Regions from separate parts of the Homo sapiens genome. Here region 1 is linked to region 2. Evidence: promoter capture Hi-C in human tissues and cell types (Jung and others, 2019). All regions are on one chromosome and are shown on one strand. The core of a region is centred on a gene start or on the middle of the fragment in contact, and the rest is flanking DNA. Distances in the headings are between cores, read along the strand shown. Region 1 has its middle 40 kb from the start of LURAP1L-AS1. Region 2 holds the start of LURAP1L (leucine rich adaptor protein 1 like).

Region 1 (2,900 bases), core at 288-2,787, 79 kb before region 2:
GCTTCTGACATTTTGACCTTGGATTTTCTTGGTTTTGATTTCCATACTTGTTTCCCATGACATTTGGTTTGCTGTGTACCTTACCATGACTATGCCCTTTTTGTTGCAGAAATCTACTGACAGTTTCTCCCATAGAAATTTTTTTCAGGTTTTGAAAGCACGCATGTTCACTGTAAGAAATTTGGGAACCAGAGAATGTAAAAATAAATAAATAAGTAAATATTTTTAGTCCTGCTTCCCTGTAGTAATACTTGTCAATGCTCTAACTTTCAATATATTATTCTTAATACTTCTTTCTAGACATCAATTATATAAAACTGGAATCATTCTAATATAGAATTTCGTATCTTGTTTTTTTTCACATAACTTTATACCATGATGATTTTCCCATGTGCCTTACCATAGGTTTTTCAGAAAGAAGAGCCTGGGACTTTAGCTTGTATTATAATCTAGGGGGCAAAGGAAATAAAAGCAAGGAAGGGAAAACGCTAATACAGAGACACGATATTAAGCTGGCTGACAATAAGATTACATGGTCTTGGGGCCCATCCTCTAGGAAATTTCATAACCCCTATATTAGCACATTTCATCTCTGGGAAAAAAAGAAGAACATTTATACAGTGGCTGCACTTTTGCTCGCCAGTTCACCACAGGATATACATTCTCCCACATTTCTGCATTGTGTGTGCTTAGGTACAAAATGGGGCACAGTGGGGTCTGATTGTATCTTAAGCCTTGGCTTCAACAGGAAAGTCCCAAATAGGAGGTGGAAGGGGCAAGTATAGGCACGAAACTGTCAGCTTGCACCTACCTAAGGTTCGTCGGAACACACACATCTGCACCACAGTGGCAGCTGGAACAAGAGGCAGTTGGGGCTGAGAAAACCTGAAGTCCCTCTTGGGTGTAATATAGTAAACATTTTGCACAACTCAGAGCTCCTGGTATTCTCATATTTTCTTGTATCAATTTCTCAATATTTTTTCCTTCCTGGCCCTTTACCAACAATCCAAAACCTTTGTCACTGCCTGGAAGTCTTTGCTTCTAGTTCGGCCTCCAACCACTTCTCCCTTCACATACACACCGGCTCATCTAAAACCTGATGGCTCACAGCTCAGCATGGTTTCTTAGCACCACCTTCCACAAGGTTTCAACATGGTAGCAATTTAATTTTCAGCACTAACATATTGTGCCAATTCATCCATGAACCAGACTCAGGTTCATTTCTTCTCTGATACTGTTAATTATAAAAATTGCCCATCCAAGTCAGGTGTGGTAGCATTAACCTGTAGTTCCCAGCTACTTAGGAGGCTGAGGTGATTGGATCTTTTGAACCCAGGAGTTTGAGTCCAGCCACGCGACATACTGAGTTTCCATCTACAGAAACAATACAATACAAAACAAAACAAAATTCCCATATGGCCACCAGTGTCAGTTGAAGTCAAGTTGTCAGTGTGATAAGGGTAATTGATACAAGAATCCAATCACCTGTTACTTATGCTCTCTGAAACTGCTCAGGCCCGATCCCCAAAATACAATTTGTATCATAGAACCTAAAACCTGTTCATAGTGCAACATACCCTGTACTTTGACCCAGATCTGATAAATCTTAGTTTATGATGGGCAGTTTCAGTTGCATAGTCACTTTGTAAACCACAATTACTCATTTAGACTCTATGAATGTCCAGGTACTTAGGAACTATGAAGCAGAGAGTACATTTTGTCAAGAAGGTTTTGTTCCAAAATCCTAGGGGTCTACACTGTGCATCTTTCATTAGGGTTTGACAGAGACTCCACACAGCACACTTATTCACCATCGACATCCACTTTATTAACCAGTCTATGGTTCAAATGGCAAGACCAACATTCCCTACAGCAGTCTGGACTTGCTATAGATTTCTCTTTTACTCAGACTACCATTCAAAATTAGTAGTCTTTTAAGTCTCCAAATAAATGGGTTTCAGCACAAGTAATATATGTGGCCTCCTAAATTTAAACAGTATATAACTGCTTTGTCTTTTTCTTCTTGGTATGAGATTTAAGGTGCAACCACATTCTTTACTCAATAGACCCTGGGCCACTGGACCCAGAAAAGCTTTACAAATGTGGCAGACTCCTGAGGATTCATGGAGTCTATTTGTAATCCTCTAACATACATATATCTTACTAAAGCATATCATGTATTTGTCATTCCTGCTCACCAACTCAAATAAGTAGGATATCATCAAGTTAATGTGCCAGTTTGATGTTCCATTAAAGATTATCTAAGACTCCACAAGTAATATAGTAGGTAGCAGGAGAGTAATATAACTCTAGTGAGTGACCAAAGTGCTTGGTGCCGTTCAAAAACTGGATATTTCAGTCCCCAAATCCTGGCCTGAACGTCTTCTTTCTAGGATCAGTCTAAATGTTTTACCTAGTTTCTGCAGAAAGAAGAATTTGAGGCAAAGCCGTACGTGCTATTATTTCATTAGGGAGTGCAATTTCAGGGAGTAGGAATAAGAAAAAGGGTGAATGAAACAGCGAAGGAGGGAAAACTAATATAAATATTTTCAATTTAACTGCTGCTAAGCACAACTGAGAGCTCAGTTTCATGGAAACATTCTCTAAGAAGGCTTACAGTCTATATCATAGGATTGTCAATCATGGGGGGAAAAGGAAAGAATTTATTCACCAGCTACTCTTTCCCACAGGTCTGTAGTTTGCGGTGCAGGTTATTAACTTCTCTGCATGTGTGTCAGTGGTGAGCCACATCTCAATGTCAACAGCGAAGGCTTGGGCAGAAGGAAGAAGCTCTGTATTGGCTCTGTCAGCTTAAACTTATGTGACTCAGTCAGCAGCACAGCTAGACCAACCGAAAGGCAAGGTTAATAGGTCAATAGCATCTGCAATGCTCCACGAGG
Region 2 (3,217 bases), core at 105-2,604:
TGCAATAACTGCAAACTCTCAACGGGCTGGTGCCTAAGAGGCTACGGGCTGGCAGCTAAATAGAGCCCGGCGCAGTGAGTCGCGTTGTCCGAAAGTACACAGAGTGGAGCCAGCCGACTGTGCTGTCTTTGCAAACCGTGACCGAGCAAAGTCCGCGGTAAACAAGCCTCGCAGCAGCTGCCTCCGGATGAGCGCCCCCTGCTCATTCCTCCACCCAGCATTTCCCACGCGCCCAGCGCTCCGCTCTGCAGCCCCTGCCGTCCTCTCTCCCAGCCCCATTCTCAGATCGCCCCATCTTTTGGCCCAGCCCAGGTCCCAGCCCCCGCGGCTGGCGCACCACACTCACCATCTCTTGCCTGAGGAGGTGAAGCTTGGTTTCTAGCCTCTCCAGGGCGCTAGAGTGGCTACCTCGTGGGGAGCCAGAGGTTGGGGAGGACGAAGAGGAGGACGACAAGGAGGGAGGGAAGCTGCAGTAGCTGCTGCTGCTACTGCAGCCGCCGCCGCCGCCGCCACCACCACCGCTCCCCCCGCAGGGGTCCCTGTCCCTTTCCCTGGGAACCGGCTCCTCCCCACGGAGAGAGCGCACTAGACTCTCGGGTACTTTGCGCCCCAGCTTCAGCTCGATGTCTCTGAGGTCTGGCAGCGGGCTGTCTTCCATGACTTTTCCGGAACGGCGATAATAGTAATAAAACGCAGCAGATGAAAGGCAGCCACGGCTTCGAAGGCTGCTGCGAAATCAGCAGACCTCTCCGGGGGCCAGGGTCTCTATCCTCCGCCGCTCCGGTGTACCGTCCTTTCCATAACCGCCTATGCGGTATCAGCCCTGAAATCCGCACAGGACGCGGGGGGTCGCAGCTGCAGTTCCCAGTCCGCTGCGACTCCTCCGACACTAAGATGATCAAGATCTCCTCATTCTCTCTCTTTTTGGCCACCTCACTGCAAAGTTGAGTTCACTGATATTGCAGACAGAGGGGGAATAAAGAGGGGGAAGTAGTGAAAGAAAAGAGAGGGAAATTAAATCTGTTTTAGCTTTACCAAGGGAAAATTTTCACATTATAAAACCGTCCGTTCACATCCCTGCGCCGCTCACTGACTGCCCATCTGGTACTACGCGACACAAAATAATGATGCAGCCAGAAACGATGTCCTGGGTCGTTTCATTTTCCAGCCATATGCCTCCAAGCTTTCGGGATATCCTGGGTTGTCAGAAATAATCTCTGGTCAGTGAAAGAGGAGTTCGGTCGTGTGCATGGACCCATAAAAAAGAGCTAGTTAGCTTAGCAGGAGTTTAACGGCTTCCTTGATGCAGCAAAAATGTCCTTCTTCCCATTTAGGCTGTTTGATCCAAGTCATTGTGTTCCTCTGAGCCTCGGAAACTTTAAACTCCGCTGGCAGGTGGACCAAACCAGGACCAACCCTTCTACCGTATATCACAGACAAGAAGAGCAACCGGAATTTTCCCAACCCTGTCGCTAGTAGCAGAGTTTCAAAGCCCTGCTTTAGTTAGGAATACCAGTTGATTTTTCAGTTTTCCTGACTAGCTACAACCTTTAAAACAGGTTTTAAAATGAGAGATAGAGGAATGACTTTATATTTGGTGTCTTCGTTTCCCATCTCTCTACCTTCCTCAAAGGAAAAACAAACAGAAAACCTCTCTTTAGAAGACTTTCCTAATAATTTTATTCTAATAAAAAGAGTGAAACAATTTCATCAAAAGTTCAATGGAAATGTACAATCAAAATTAATTATCCTACCAACTGTTACAGTATGCAAACAAAAGTGAAAAATTAAATAGCCAGAATAACTTACATGACTGCTGAGATAGCAGTGAAATTTTAAGAACAAGCAATTGCTGAGATACTTACTTTTATTTTAATTATGGAAGAAAAAATATTGGGAATAACTATTTAAAATGTTGTCTTCTTTGATAATTTATCTATAAATTAATTTATAGATTTTTTCAACTATACAAATTGTACAATTAATTGTATAGTTGAACAATTGTACAATTTATTAATTTGTACAATTGTACAATTCATTAATCTGAAATACTTCTACCAAGTAAGTTATTATGAGCTACATGGATTACAGATCTGAATCAGCATTGAGTTTGTGTCAAAAATGTTTAAGTAGAGGATACTAATTTCAATCCAGTAAACTACAATTTTTGATTTCCATTGAAATATTTCAAAGTATGTGCCCCTCTATTTCTGTGACATATAAGTATTTGTGTTCCTGGTCACTCCGAGGCTCCATTTCCAGAGACATCATTCAGGTTTTACACTTGTAGGAACATAGGTATATACATCTCAGAGTTTGTTTTTATCATATCTGACTCTAGGAAACCTTATACGTAGAGGAAACATACGCATTCTAAATGAAATATTTCATGTCAGGGAAAAAATGCTGAACTTTCTATCAACATGCCAGAAATTTGCATGCTATTTCTCCCTTTTAAAAAGAAATGAAGAAAATAGTTATAAGTTAGATGACCCATTTCAAAGTTAGAACTACCACTTACAGAATCAAGGGAAAACAAGACCAAATCCCAGCTAACTGATAAAACTACATGCTTGGTCCTAAATTTGGAAAAACACAAGCTCGTTGCATAAGAATTGCACTGTGGCATGTAATTATGAAAGGCTTGTGTTTCAGTCAAGAACAGTTTATTATTACAAAACCCTTACAAAGTTCAGCATAAGGCTGGCTAAGTGCAGTTTATAGATGAAATATCTAGCTAGAAATTGGTCAGTAAAAAACAAATGTCAAATTATCGTGTGTCAATATAGAAAAATGGGACACCTCTTCTGCTATGAATCACAGACTGCAAAATCAGTATTTGAGGCTGAGGATAATTTAATATATACGTATATGTATGTATATATGTATATAGTTTTTTAAAGAAGTCTGCAGGAGAAACTCCTCTGAGAGTAAAAGTGTGATGTATATGCAAAGTAACTTTGTTCCAGTGAAATATAAAAAAATGTAAACTTTTGAAGGAAAGCTTAGTATGTCAAGCTTTAAATTTTTTTTCGGTTAAATGCCTATTGACATTTTAGTTTAAAATGAAGACATTTTGAATGATGCTTTAGCTAGTTTTCAGAATATATTAAAATCATTGAATGTTTATGGATCTATAATAGATTGTTGTTAATGCTACCATAACTGCTTTATGTGGTTTAATCTGAGGACATTTCTTACTCAAACTATTTGAAAA

What was found. The method cuts DNA at HindIII sites, captures the fragments that hold promoters and counts their contacts. A contact is called where the count stands out against the background at its distance.
Region 1: a contact is called between a fragment that was not itself captured here and the fragment with the promoter of LURAP1L in region 2, in 4 of the 25 tissues and cell types used here (adrenal gland, dorsolateral prefrontal cortex, heart left ventricle and 1 more).

Annotation. Positions count from the first base shown.
Region 1 is chr9:12,853,143-12,856,042 of GRCh38, reverse strand. No RefSeq gene overlaps it. Among named protein-coding and RNA genes, the nearest start is that of LURAP1L-AS1, 40 kb to the right of the region's middle. The HindIII fragment of the contact is 5,054 bases long and covers 1-2,900 here.
Region 2 is chr9:12,773,157-12,776,373 of GRCh38, reverse strand. LURAP1L (leucine rich adaptor protein 1 like) reads right to left here and starts at 1,354. Exons shown (of 2, transcript NM_203403.2): 1 at 347-1,354. The coding sequence starts at 658. The region is part of intron 2 of LURAP1L-AS1 (LURAP1L antisense RNA 1); the gene reads left to right. The HindIII fragment of the contact is 5,707 bases long and covers 778-3,217 here.